Linked DNA regions of Homo sapiens: region 2 is linked to region 1. Evidence: promoter capture Hi-C in human tissues and cell types (Jung and others, 2019). All regions are on one chromosome and are shown on one strand. The core of a region is centred on a gene start or on the middle of the fragment in contact, and the rest is flanking DNA. Distances in the headings are between cores, read along the strand shown.

Evidence for each region. Contacts are between HindIII fragments. The study calls those that stand out against the background at their distance.
Region 2: a contact is called between a fragment that was not itself captured here and the fragment with the promoter of YLPM1 in region 1, in 1 of the 25 tissues and cell types used here (hippocampus).

What each region holds. Positions count from the first base shown.
Region 1 is chr14:74,759,289-74,766,990 of GRCh38, reverse strand. YLPM1 (YLP motif containing 1) reads right to left here and starts at 3,675. Exons shown (of 21, transcript NM_019589.3): 1 at 2,629-3,675. The coding sequence starts at 3,501. RefSeq lists an enhancer at 3,628-3,967. The HindIII fragment of the contact is 19,465 bases long and covers 1-7,702 here.
Region 2 is chr14:73,752,458-73,759,360 of GRCh38, reverse strand. All of the region lies in intron 1 of MIDEAS (mitotic deacetylase associated SANT domain protein), which reads left to right. It overlaps MIR4505 (microRNA 4505), which reads right to left and starts at 614; the gene lies at 542-614. RefSeq lists silencers at 281-390, 2,701-2,995 and enhancers at 1,041-1,090, 2,782-2,861, 4,265-4,344, 4,375-4,444, 4,745-4,994. The HindIII fragment of the contact is 7,118 bases long and covers 1-6,885 here.

The DNA.
Region 1 (7,702 bases), core at 2,426-4,925:
AATCGCTTGAACCCGGGAGGCAGAGGTTGCAATGAGCCAAGATCGCGCCACTGCACTCCAGCCTGGGCAACAGTGTGAGACTCCATCTCAAAAAAAAAAAAAAAAAAGAAAAGGTCTTGGTTTTGTTTTGTTTTGTTTTATAGAGGTACTTGACTAAGAATGTAGGGATGAAATGACATAAGATCTAAGATTTGCTTTAAAATATTTCAGCAGAGGCCAGGTGTGGTGGTTCATGCCCATAATCCCAGCACTTTGAGAGGTCAAGGCAGTGTACTGTTTGAGCTCAGGAGTTCAAGACCAGCCTGGGCAACATAGCAAAACCCCGTCTCTACCAAAAAAAAAAAAAAAAAAAAATAGCCAGGCATGGTGGCATGCACCTGTAGTCCCAGCTACTTGGGATGGCTTGAGCCTGGGAGGCAGAGGTTGCAGTGAACTGAGACTATGCCACTACACTCCACCCTGGGTGACTGACAGAGCAAGACCCTGTCTCAATATATATATATGCAACAATAATAAAAAAGGCCTAGGTGAAGTAAACATGGCAAAATCTTGATAGCTGTTGAATCTCAATGATGGGTATGTATGGGGAATCATACTTTTTTCTCTATTTTGTGTATTTTAAAAATATTTCACGATAAGAAATTTTGAATGACACATTCCAAAAACAAAATATGAATCAAAGAATAATAAATATGTAGAAGGATTGCCAGAGACTGGTACTGGCATGAAGAAATATTTATCATCTAATAAACCAACATATCCTAAGTCTAGAACATGACAACTCTCGTATTTTATTCAACAAATCTGTGGAGAGCCTACAATTTGCAAGGCACTGTCCTAGGTGCTACGGTAATAAGAAGATAAGTAAGATAATTCCTGTCTGCAAGGGACTTACAATCTGAAGAACAGAACCAAACCAGATGGGTGAGCACAAGCAGGGCTTCATGGAAACCTTGATATTTGAGATATGCCTTGAAAGCAATACAACTCTAAGGGGAAACAGAGGGTTGAGGAGGTTAGGATGAATTCTAAAAAGAAGAAAGAAAGCCACAGGCTTCAAGGCTCTTCTTGATCTGGTCTATGTGCACCACAAGTCTCATTTTCCACCACTCTGCCTCTCACCAAAGAATTGCAGGCACTGAATATTCAAGACACTGAGTTCATTACAGAAAAGGGTACAAAGGCAGAAAAGTAAAAGCACTGTTCATGGTAACTATACATATTAAGGCCTGATCTGACACACACACTCCTCCCAAAAAAAGCCAAAAATACAATTATTTTGTCTCTCTGTAAGGTCAGAAAAACAGTCTAGTAGAGTGAGAATATAAATGTCCTATTTTGGCTCAGACTAACTGAGAATGTTTGACAACAAAAGCACTAAAGACTTCAGAGTGGGGTGGGAAAGAGGACAGAAAGTCTGTCTCTATAATAGAGCAATCTGGGGAAAATAAACTGGTGAGATGGTACAAATTTGATGTAAGCCAACAGAATCATTATTCTACTACTTTATTTCAGCATCCCAAGTGTTTTCTCCAGAAGATGTGCCAAGCATCATTTCTTAAAACAACTTGCTTCTGTTCTTAATTTCTAATGCCAAACCACCGTAAAATTATAATACTGCATCCCTATCTTTTGGAAATCTTTTATAGGTAAATCTGAGCGTTTATATTACAAGATTCTCTTTTTTCCTTAGTGAATCTAAGGTAAATTAGTAATCGCTGAAAAAGTGTCTACTTTAGGAAATCATAACAATTGATTTATTCTGCTTTAGTTTGACCTTCCCTCTCTCAAGGGGGAACTCGTTTATTACTGTTACCCTGTCAATTTGTCTGTTCTGCGGGATAAGAATGGCTGACTCTCTCATGAAAAGATATCACCAAACTTTTTTTACGTTGGCCAAATTGCAAGGCTGTTTCTTTGGAGTGAATGGTAATGACAATGAAACGCAGAAAATTGCTCATTATCTTAAAACAATCTTTAAATAATATGAGAAAAGGATGTCTGGGTCAATTCCTAAAATGGACCAATCGATCCCCAAAAGGGTCTCGGGACTCATCTATGTATTGTATATGTACCTATAAGCATAATTAGGATGCTCCTGGTAAGACAAGATTTCCATCCTTTTTCTGAAACCTCTTAATTCAGGAAGCTGACAACTATCCCTGGCCCCTAAGTAATATTTTTAAAAGAAGCTAACTAATCATAAAGTTTACAAACATTCAAGTGTCAGCCCTTGGCGAGGCCTCTTTTTCATGCTTTCTCTCAAATGGAAACTTTCGTTTAAAATACAATTTTAAAACAAGACCCTCTGCAACAAAATCTATTTGCAACAGCAACAAAATCTAAGAGGATGGTCAAAGAAACCAAGGAATGTATCTGAGAGGTAACTTTTGAGCCACCCCACCACTGTATGTAATCCATACACATCTACAAACGCTGTTTTTTTGGTAATTCACATCTAGCTAATTAAAAAGCTGAGCTGTCAGCCCTCTGACTCTTACGGAATCCTTTGGAGTGTTAGCTAGTCATTGTGTGTTGGAATTAGACTAACCACTGGTTAAAGCCCTGAGGCCTGCTCATTCAGGGCCCTCTAGGTGAAAGATGAGGTTCAGGCAGATGCTTTCTTACCTGTGGAGTCATCGTAGAGGGATCTGGCTCAGGGGCGGCTTGCTGCTGTTCAGTACTCTTGTTTTTGGCCCCACTCTCCAAAGGCTCTTGCTGGACAGTTGTCTTATTTCCAGGGGGGGCGGACGGTGGTGGTGGAGCTAGTAGTTGGGATTTAGAATGGCCCTGGGAGGGGCGGGAAGGAGATGCCTGAGAAGAGGGCAAGTAGGACTGGGAATGGCTCAAATAGGATTGCGAGGAAGAGGAGGAGGATGAGTAAGAAGGGGTGGGCGCCAGGTAGGATTGGGAAGGTGGGGACTGCGAAGGGGACGGCTGAGCAGGAGGCAGGTAGGGCTGAGATGAGGTCGGGGGGTAGTAAGAGGGTGGCGGCTGAGGTGGGGGCATGTAAGACTGAGATGGGGGCATATAGGACCCAGGCGGCACAGGGGGAGATTCAGGGGGGGATTCCAGCTCCATTGGAACCAAACCAGGAGGCCCGTCTCGTTGGTGGTGGAGCATCTGGTGTTTGTACTGCTGCTGCTTCTGATAGCTGAGGGCCGGCCCGGGTGGCGGGGGCATCGGTGGCGGTGGCGGCTGCCAGTCTCCGTAGCCGCCCCCCGGCATCACTGGCGGGGGCGGCAGAGGGGGCGGAGGAAGGTGGTGGGGCTGAAGCACGCACTGCATTTGCTTCTGGTGCATCTGCTGCAGCTGCTGGAGCTGCGCCAAGTGCTGTTCGCGGAAGCTCATGAAGCCCGAGGAGGAGGGGGCCGCGGGAGTCGTCGAGCTCGAGTACCCGGGCCCCGGCGAGGCCTCAGGAAGCGCCACTGGCGGCGGCGGTGGGACCGGTGGCGGCGGATAGTGGCTGCTCCCGCCATACCGGCCCCAATTCGGGTACATATCGAAAAAGAAGGCGCAGGGCTCGTCCTGGCGCCGTTACTCGTCGCAACCGACCTCCAGGAGCCGCGGCGGCGACGGCGACAGCCGGAACTCGCGGCGCCTACAGGCCCCGGAGCGTGTAAACGGAGCGCGCCAGTGCGCCGGCGCTCCCGAGCTGGGCCCGCGACCGGGAAGGCGGGGACGCGACTTGGGCGACTACGTCTGCGCAGTAACCACCGAGAGGAGAACAAAGGCGAGATAGAGCGGTCCTTTACTTGGCGACTCGTGGTTGCCATCTTCCTTTGGGTTCAGATAATGTAGGCTCCAGTAGAATGTTCTCATAGAACTGAAAAACCATAGAGTCTCACAGCCGAAAGAGGTGGTAGAGATCCTATCGCTCCACGGGTTCATTTTTGAATGAAAAAAAAAAAAGGTTCCATTCACAATAGCAACAATCGCAACAACAACAAAAAAACATAAAGCAACTAGGAAAAACTCTAACAAGAAAGATGTAGGACTTATATGTAGAAAGCTACAGAGTCATAAAGAAGCATATCCAAGTAGGATGAAATTAGACTTCAAATAATGGAGAGGCTTACCATGATCCTGGGTGAAAAGAGGAAAAATTGTAAAGATGTCAGTTTCTCCCAAATTAAATGAATAGACCTAACTCAATTCTCCCCAGAAATTCAACTGGGAACAAAGCTGTGAAGAATGGAAAGGTGTTTTCAAGGCAGAGTGTAAGATTACACCAATTCCTGCAGACATATAGTGAGTAACATCTGCAGGAATTGTAGAAGGGGAGAAATGGAATTTTTTAGACTGTCTCAACACATATAAATCGGTGTTGCAGAATCTCAGAGCAAAAGCAAAGAGAGCAAAAACCAGATACAAAGATGGTCTAAAGACAACCTGGAAGATAATCTTCCAAAAGCTCTCAACGTAATACCAGACATAAACTCTTACTTTAGCTTGAGTGAATCACTAAAAAGCAAAGCTAATACACTGAATTCTTTTGGGTGTGTGGGGGGGGGCGGGGGGAGGGAGAACTGTGAGAATATTGTGTCAGTGCATCACTTGAGTAACATGCAAATAATTGACCTTTCTTCCATCTTAGCAACCCAGATCTTCACCTCTCTCAGGAGGTGAATGTGAATGGAAAGTGGAGCAGCAAGGCATCCTTCAAAAGGAAGAGCTTCTGTTTTCAAATAGAAATTTAGTTATGTTTCTTTTAACTTTTTATTGAAGTATAACGAATATACAGAAAATTACATGTCAAAAGACAAAATTACAACAAATTTAGTTTAAAGATCTTAATTAACTTTTACCTGCTATTCTAGAATTGGGCAACGTCTCATTCTATAAAGCAGAAACAGTGTTCCAATGAGCAGAACAATCGGGATAATTTCATAGACAGAAAAGAAACGCAGAGGCAGGGCGCGGGGGCTCACTCCTGTAATCCCAACACTTTTGGGAGGCTGAGGCAGGCAGATCACCAGGTCAGGAGATCAAGACCAGCCTGGTCAACATGGTGAAACCCCATGCCTACTAAAAATACAAAAAGTATCCAGGCGTGGTGGTGCTCACCTGTAATCTCAGCTACTCAGGAGGCTGAGGCAGGAGAATCACTTGAACCCAGGAGGCAGAGGTTGGAGTGAGCTGAGATCGTGCCACTGCACTCCAGCCTGGGTGACAGAGCGAGACTCCATCTCAAAAAAGAAAAAAAAGAGAGAAACAGAAAACTAAAAGTGGATTGTTTGTTTCAAAGTTTCTTTTCTTATAAGGTTAAAGCAGAGAGGACTTCTTTATCATGCTGGCTAAAAATGGACTGTTTGCAGACTTGGCTATTATTTCTCTCTCTCCTGGTTTATTGAATGGTCAGATAAAGATTTTAATTTTGGCATGGCAACATCAATAAACTCCATTTTGGTTTGTTCTGTTGGGCCTAATGCCCAACTTGCTATAAATTTTATTTAACACATGTCTTAAGTAGACAGCATAGTAAATTTTCACAAGCCAATCACACTTGTGAAATCGGCACCCAGATCAGGAACCCAACCCAGAAACCCTAGTTAGTTGTGTTTTTAATATTTTGGGCTGACATTTTCTTTTGAAAAATGTATAAATTTAGGCCGGGCATGGTGGCTCACACCTGTAACCCCAGCCTTGGGAGGCCAAGGCAGGCGGATCACTTGAGGTCAGGAGTTCAAGAGCAGCCTGACCGACATGATGAAACCCCATCTCCACTAAAAATACAAAAATTAGCTGGGTGTGGTGGCACATGCCTGTAATCCCAGCTACTCAGGAGGCTGAGGCAGGAGAATTGCTTGAACCCGGGGGGCGGAGGTTGCAGTGAGCTGAGATCATGCCACTGCACTGCAGCCTGGTCAACAGAGCAAGACTCTGTCTCAAAAACAAAGAAAAAAAAATATATATATATATATACACATGGGGTTTCACCATGTTGGCCAGGCTTGTCTTGAACTCCTGGGCTCAAGTTATCCACCCGCTTCGGCCTCCCAAAGTGCTAGGATTACAGGTGTGAGCCACCATACCCGGCTGACATCACACATAATGGTGAAAAGTTGAAAGTTTTGCCACTAAGATCAAGTACAGACGTCCACTATCATCACATCTGTTATGAGTTGAATATGTTGAAGTTCTAACACCCAGTACTACAGAATGTGACCTCATTTGGAAATCAGGTAGTTATAGATGTAATTAGTTAAGATCAGGTCATGTTAGAGTGGGCCCCAAATCCAATGTATCTGGTGTCCTTAAAATAAGATGGTCATGTGAAGACACAGAGGCAGAGGGAGAACACTATGTGATGATGAAGGCAGAGACTGGGATTCTGGGATTATGCTGCTACAAGACAAGGAAAACCCAAGATTGGCCGCAAACCGCCAGAAGCTAAGAAGAAGCTGGAAAGAATTCCCCTACAGGTTTCAAAGGGAGCATGACCCTGCCAATACCATGATTTCAGACTTCTAGTCCCTAGAACTGTGAAGAATACATTTCTGTTGTTTTAAGGCACCCAGTTTGTGGTGCTTTGTTACAGCAGCCTTAGGAAACTAATACAATATCTTATCAGCATTGTAATGCAGGCCCTACTAATGCAATGGGTATAAAAAGAAAGGAAAAGGGAAGGAGGGAGGGAGGAAGGGAGAGAGGAAGGAGGGAGGGAAGAAAGGAAGGAAGGAAGGAAATAAGTATTGGAGAGGAAGAAACAAAATTGTCATTGTTTACTTATATTGTGTACATTCAAAATCCAAAATAATCTACAGGTAAATTATGGGAATCAAAAGATTGCTGGGCATAAAGCCAATATACAAATAAACATGTACATATATAATCTATACATAGATACCTTTCATAAAGAAACTGAGAAACTACAGAGTACAAGGAAATATTTGTGACGCATTTAACCTGCAAAGGATTCATTTAGACAATGTAGAGAAATCCCACAAATCAATTTGAAAATGACAACTTACAGGAGAAAAATGAGATGTGAAGGTATTTCACATAAAATAAAAGTTAAATTATCAATACATGTGAAAGGAATTCAACCTCAATAGAAACCAGGGTTATGTGAACTAAAGCCAAAATGAGATACCAGTATATGTACAACTCATCAACATGGCTAAAATAAGAGATGTAATATTGAAGGTTGGCAAGGCTGTGAAACAAATGAAATTCTCATACACTGCTGGTGGGAATGTAAATTGGGATGACTACTCTGAAATACTGTCTGGTAGTATCTACCAAATCTGAACAGACCATGACCCAGGAATCTTACTCTAAGGCATATAACCAACAGAAATGCATAGGTGTGGTCCGGGTGCAGTGGCTCACGCCTGTAATCCCAGCACTTTGGGAGGCCGAGGCGGGCAGATCACCAGGTCAGGAGTTCAAGACCAGCCTGGCCAACATGGTGAAACCCCATCTCTACTAAAAATACAAAAATTAGCCGAGCATGGTGGTGCATGCCTGTAATCTCAGCTGCTTGGGAGGCTGAGGCAGGAGAATCGCTTGAACCCAGGAGGTGGAGGTTGCAGTGAGCCAAGACCGCACCACTGCACTCCAGCCTGGCGACAGAGCAAGACTCCGTCTCAAAAAAAAAAAAAAAAAAGAAATGCATAGATATGTTCACCGGGAGACATAACTAAGAATGTTTATACTGGCAGTATTTGTTTGTTTTTGTTTTTGAGGCAGAATCTCG
Region 2 (6,903 bases), core at 2,077-4,576, 1.0 Mb after region 1:
TGGAGAGAAACGTGGTGTCCGTGGGGACCGGCTGACGTGACGGAGCCCAGGCCCGGAAGGCGCGGCGAGGGGCTAGCCAGCTGAGGGAACTTGGCGCGGGAGCCCCTTCCCCTGCCAGCGTGCACGGGAAAGTGGGCCTGGACGCGGCGTCCACGCCAGGAGTTTGGGGGACAGAGGTGCAGGGGCGTTGGGGAACTGGGGCAAATGCAGTCAGCAGAGGCCTAGGCTGGAGCGCTTCGCGCGGGCGGGCGCACCTCAGACCTGTCATCCTCCCGCGCGCCCCCGCACGCCCGCGCCGCCGCAGCCCTCCCAGCCCGCGCGGTGCCTCGCGGGGAGCTGTGTTCCCTGGTGCCTGGCGGCAGCGCCGAAACCCGGGATTCGGCCGGGCCCTGCATATGGCCGGCTTGGTGGAGCTGGTCACGTCGCCTCCCAAGTCGCACATGCAGGACCATGTGTGTCAGGTTGCCCCCAAGGCCTCTGGGTAAAGGTCTAGGGGAGGAAGGGGAACTTCGTGTGCCCTGGGGCCTTCAGGCTTCAGCCCCAAGGCGGGCCGACATGGAGGAGGTACCTGCCACAGAAAGTGGAGGCCGGGTGTCCGTCCCAGCCCAGCCTCCAGCGAGAGCTGGTGAGAAGATGAAAGGGGAAGTTATATGCCCCATTTAAAACTTTGTTGGTCACAACTACGGTGGCTGCTTCCTGTTTCCACCATCCCACGTGGGACCTGTGTGCCAGCCTGTGGAGCCTCGCGCGGGGGGCGGTGGGATGGGGGAAGAGAGGCTGGCCACGGAGGCCCCGGTGGCCCGCGTATGCAGGGGATCCCTGTTGGCAGCTGCGGCTGGGGGAGGGAGGGGATGTCTGGCTTGCTCCAGCAGGGGGAGCCTGGCCAGGTGATCTGGGATCTTCTTGTTCCTGTAGCTTCAGGGTTGAGACTGAAGGCCTAGTGAAGGTGGACCGAGAAGCCAGTCCTCCCTAGGGGGCCTCAGCTGAGGGGAGAAACCACCTGTCTTGCTCTAGAGCCTCCCACCAAAGGTGTGGCACACGCCCCTTTTGGATCAGAGAAATGCACCCTTTCCTTGGGTGTTAAGTGGCTTCAGAACCCAGGGAAAAGGAGAAGCCTTCCCGGGTTGAGAATTCGTAGGTCTTCCTTTTCCAACTGCTCTGGACAGTGAATAATAGGAGCGTAAACATTCAATTACTGTGATAAACCATCTCGTTGCATGGCCCTGGTCCAGTCTCCACTCTAATTGGATTGGCCTCTGGCTGGTTACTCTGGTCCGTGTAGCTCCCGGGGGGACAAGGGGGTGAAGAACCTGGAGGATGCCCCCAGGTCATACAGCTTGCCAGCTTGCTCTGGAACAGCCTAGCCACTGCCAGTGTGGCCTCTCCAAGTGCCAGCAGAACCCCCACTCCCGTGACTCTGTCAGCTCCTCACCCCGCCCCAGGAAAGAGCGCCCTGGAGTGCCCATGGGGATGAGAATTTAATTTTTACATGTGGGATTTTAAAATAGCCCCAGTGTTTGACCCTGTGTGCTGCTGCTTTCAATAAGTGGAACACAAGAAAAGACAACATGCAGTTGTGGATTCAGCTGAGGGCCTCCTGTGTCTAGAGTCCCCAGAGAAAGGCTGCCCAGGGGTGCCAAGACCTCTGACAGAAGAGGGGAAGGGGAATGGGCCCAGTCCAGGAATCTTCAGGTTGAGAGCCCCTCTCTTGCATTTGGGTCTCCCAGAAGAAAACTTTGCTCATGCTGGGGTGGGGACAGCCACAAAGTGGCTGGGGGTTTCCAGCTTATCCTTCTAATCCTGTTTCAAATGCCACTTCTGAAGGCTGTAGCCATCTTCTGAACACTCATTTCCACCTTATGTAGTTATTTGTGTACATACTGCAGTGTGGTGGTCAAAAACAAAGACTCTGAGTTAGAGTTCCTATACAGTATCTCCTTCATAGAGTTGCTGTGAGGATTCTGTGAGTTAGTATACGTAAAATGCTTAAAGCACATTTCAGTATTTGGTAGCCTCTGCTTGAATGGGTCCCACAATGCTGCTTGGCATCTAGTAAGTGTTTAGTGTTTTTTTTTTTTTTTGGTTGTTAGAGATAGGGTCTTTCTCTGTCGCCCAGGCTGGAGTGCAGTAGTGCGATCTCAGGTCGCTGCAATCTCAGCCTCCTGGGCTCAAGCAATCTTCCCACCTCAGCCTCCCAAGTAGCTGGGACTACGGGTACACATCACCACACCTGGCTAATTTTTCTATTTTTGTAGATATGGGGTTTTGCCATGTTGCCCAGGCTGGTCTTGAACTCTTGGGCTCAAGAAATCCACCCACTTTGGCCTCCCAAAGTGCTGGGATTACAGTCTTGAACTACCTCACCTGGTCTTAGTGCATGTTAGTTGAACAAATTAGTGAAAGATCTCCATCAAAAAAAATGTGTACTTGTCATGTGTTGGGCCCAGTGAGTCCCTGCTCCTGGAACCTCCTCAGATTGCATCACTGGTTTCAAAAATGTCAGTCCACCGTGGGTGATTCTGGGGCTGGTGAACCCAGTTTCCTGGCACTGCCCTGTAGCTGGCCTTGTGGAGTGCATGTGTCGGTCATCCTGACCCTAAGGGGACCTCAGGGTGAAAGAGTTGTGGAGCCATCTCCCTAGGGATCTGCTAGCCTGGGCACTTCCTTTGGTCAGCCCAGATTGGCACCCTTCCTGTGTGTGTGCAGGCGTGCATGCATCAGTACAGAAGCAGCCTGGGGCTCCATTCTTCCCTGACTCACTGCAGGTGGCAGGAAGCAGAGCCAGTGGCCGCATTCTGTTGGAGGAATTGCTTCTTTCTGCACATGAGAACTCTTGACTCTGGGACTGAAAAATTGCATGCTGGGCCGGGGCTAGGGTGGAGTAGGCTGAAATCCCCAATTCTTACTAAGGGACCTGCATTTGCATTCGAAGCAACATTCAGGATACTGTGAGACTATGAGCTCATTTTATGAATCAGAAGCATTACAGCATAACTTTAATGTTGGAAACTGCAATTTGGAATCCAGATCACCCTCCCTCCACCTCAGCGCGCACGCGCGCGCGCACACACACACACACACACACACACACACTGACATGGGCTCTCGCAGTCACACACTTGGGAGCAATAATAGTTGGAGCATCAGTTCAGATTCTGGAGGCCTCCAGCAAAATTCATCCACACCGACTTCTGCTTCCACACTCAGAACGCCGTTCCTGGATGGTGTGTGGACAGTCACTTGGGCAGTGACTGAAGGAAGTCTGATGGGTGCGTGGGAATGAGGCCTGGGCAGACCTGAGTTCATACCCCAGCATCTCCTCTTGCTGTGTGGCTTTGGGCATTGCTTAACTTCTTGGGCCTCAGTTGCCTCACCTGTAAAATGTGGATGATACTAGTACTTCATAGGCTGTGAAGATTAGACAGGATTATGCATGCAGAGTGAATGACACATACTAGGTATTCAACAGATGGCAACTCTCATTTCACCAGTTCCCACTGGATCCAGTGTGTTTGCCTTTGACTCCTATCAAGGAAGAGAAAATGAAGGGTGTCCTGTTTATAGTAGGAAAGCAATCTACCAGGCCACTGAAGCTTGTATAAATGAAGTTTATTGTGCCCTGGGAACAACAGCTTGATCCACTCCACCCTAGACATGTGGCCCAGACCCAGTGTCTGTGTGCCTTTGAGAGGGACTGTGGCCCTGCAGCCGAGGGTTGAGGGCCCAGCTTCCCAGAGATCAGATTGTGCTCTCAGGAACCTACCCGCCCAGGCCCCAGGCTGAGCTGCTCACGTGGGTGGGCAGGAGGAAGGCTGCTTTCTCAGCCAAGGAAAAAAAGTCCCCTGTTTGCTTCACCTGAAGCCTCGCAGTGTGACCTCGCAGGAGGTTTGGGTAGAGCCAAGGGTGGGAGTTTTTCCTTAAAGACTGCTTTGGCTCTTTTACCCATTAAAATTATGTGCAACGGTGAAGGAAACACCAAGAATTATATAAGAAGAAAGTTGCCACTGTCAGAGGAGAGCCGGAGTTGTGCTGGGGTGGGGCTGGGGGTCTCCCTGAGGGCTGCAGTTGCTGGCTGTCATTCTCGGCTGGTGGGGAAGAGCTGGTGGGGAAGAGCCGGGGCTTGGGGCTGAGGCTTCCCTGGCAGCCGCCCTTGCTGTTGCTCTTCCTGGAACACAGCCTCGTGCTGTGGCCAGCCAGGGAAGGTGCTCCCTGTTCCCTCTGCCTTTCTCCCAGCCGCAGGGAGCTTTCGTGGTGAGAGCATTTTTTCCAGGCAGTGCTTCTTCCTTCAGGAGTCCTGGGAAGGAAGGAGAGTGGGGAAAGCACAGGGCAAGGTTTATCCCAGTTAAAGCTTGGATGGAGAGAGTGAGCTACAGTAGGCTTGTAGCTGGCCAGAAGGGGCTTCTCTCTAAAGCCGCTCAGCTTCTCTGGGGAATTGGAATCCAGACAAGAAGGAAAATGGTGAGAGATTTTGATTCCCTGCTTTTCCCAGTAGTTGGGCAGACAGAGGACCCTATCCAACTTACCGTTGCCAGAACTTGCCATTTCTTTAGTAGGTAAGGCCCCCATAGCTCAGAAATGGGCTTAAGTGATAACTTGCAACCCCGAGACGGCATGTGAGCTGGCAGTTCCTGGCACAGATCCTCCTCCCCTCCTGGCCTTCCTCTGTCTGAGGCCCCAGCTGGTCTTGGGTCATAGTCCTAATTCCAGAGCTGGGAAACCATTTGGGACATCTAGTCCGAATCCTTCATTTTCAAATGGGGAAGCCGAGAGGTGGTGAGATGCTTGAGGTTGTAAAGACTGTCTCCACTTTCACTTTGGGAGGGTGGAAAGGGACTGCTCCTGTGTCCTGCGCCTGGTGGCTGCTTCTCCCAGTTTGGAAGCTGGGAGGGCAGCTTGAGCGCAGGAAGAATCCAAAGGAATACTGTCTTGGCTCCTGGGTGTGGCTCAGTCCTCAGCTGGCTCCATAGTTATTTATTTGTTTGCATGTGCGTGAGTGAGTCCTGTGGTTGGGAGGCTGGATCTGAGTGAAAGCAGAAGTACCCACACTGTGTCAGCTGTGCAGCACACAACGGGGGACAGTTGGGAGGGGAAAAACGGGGCAGAGGCCCATCTGCATGGTGGCTGCTAGTTGTGCTTTCTGTCCCTGTTGCAGTGCTTGCACACTTGAGTGTAAACAGCCCTTCTGTGTTGCTAGCAGCTGCCTTTCCTTACTGGCTTTGGGCAGAAGAGGCGCCAAAAATAACCAGGCGGGCACTTCCACTTGTGGGACATTTACTGTGGTGGCCTCTGGGCAGGCTTGCTTGCTTTCTGTAGGCCCTGTGTCTCTGCCACACTGGAGTCCCTTCTACTTCCTGCAGCCCTTCCTCAGCCTCCCTCTGGCCATCGCACCTTCCCCTTTATTGCTCTTCTTAGAGTGAATCCAGGAGGTGGCGGCTCATCCTTTGGGCCTGGAAGCTCTGCCGGTATTATCTGGGAAATACCCTCATCCCCCTGTATCCCTGTAGGCAGGCCCTGCTGGCATAGCTGAGTTTAAAGGAGGCCTGTGCTGGGTGCCCTCTGGACTTTCTGGCCAGACCTCTCTCTCCTGGGTCTGTAGGCCGGAAGCTCTGCGTGCCTGCAGAGCCCCACACTGTTGCTAGGACTTTGAGTCTCCCTGTCCCGCCCTTGCCTGGCCAGCCTTGCTCTCAGCCAGCTGTGGAACTGGAAGAGTTGGACTATTCATTTCCTCCAAGGTGTTAAAGACTGATAACGATGTCTGAGCCACCCCTACCCAGCAAGGGAGACAGGAAACACATTTATTGAGTGCGTACCCTGTGCCAGGCGGCGCTTCATCTATGTATTACCTCATTGAATCCCACAATAACTGAGATGAAACTGTTGTGCCCATTCACCAATAGGGAACCCCAGGCTCACAGAGGCTGGTGATTGGAGAAGCCAGCACACATTGCCCCTGACTACTTTTACCCTGCAGCTCCCACACTTCCTCCGGCTATTTTCATGTGCACAAGGAACAATGCTTTGATCCTTGGTATGAAGTGCTGATAGTAGGAATTCAGGCACCATTAGACTGGCTGGTAGGGGAGATATCTTGGGCTGGGAAGGGTGGGGAAGACCTCCCTGCTGCCTCCCTCTCCAGATGCTTCACAGGGCAGCCAGGAGCCCAGCCTTGAGCCCTGAGGCCCTTCTGTGGAGGACTCAGCTGTGGGCCTGGGGACTGCTCGGCCAGGCACATGCACAGGAAGAGGGGAAAGGCTTGGTTTCAGCTTAGTGTGGGCTTCCTGGGGACCTCCCAAGTGTGTCCTCCCCCTTAAAGGTATCCCAGCCTCTGAGGTACTGAGAACAGCTCTGGGGAATCAAAGGCTGGGGCTAGGTGGAATCTTTGGTCTCCCTTCTTGGCTGCTGGGTCTGACCTGGGGCCCATCATTCCAGCTGGCTTGGCCCAGGTCCCAGAGAGTCTGGTTGGTGTGTACTTGGGGCTTGGGCTGGATGCTCTGCTGTGCCCGCATGCTGTGCCAAAGGCCTCTGGGTGTATTTCAGGAACAATAAAGAATAAATCAACATAGGAGAAAAGGCCCTGCAGCAGCTGCTCAGAGACTGGAGAAATGCAAAGAATGTGTGAGCCTTTGGCAAAAGTCTTGCATCTTGACCAGGGCCTGAGGAAGGGCGTGAGGCTGATGTGATGGCTCTGGAGTCAAATGGGCGTCTGTCTGTGCCCAGTTTGCAGCCCTTCTAGGAGGCCCCAGGCAGCCACACTGAGACTCCCCTCCCTCTGCTGGTGGCAAATTTTTTTGCTTCCTGGTCGCTAGCATGTACTAGGGAGCCATATTGCCCCCGTTCTTTACTCTCACACTACACTGCCAGACACCGACCCATCCAACCCCCAAGCACCAGGTGGGTCTTGGC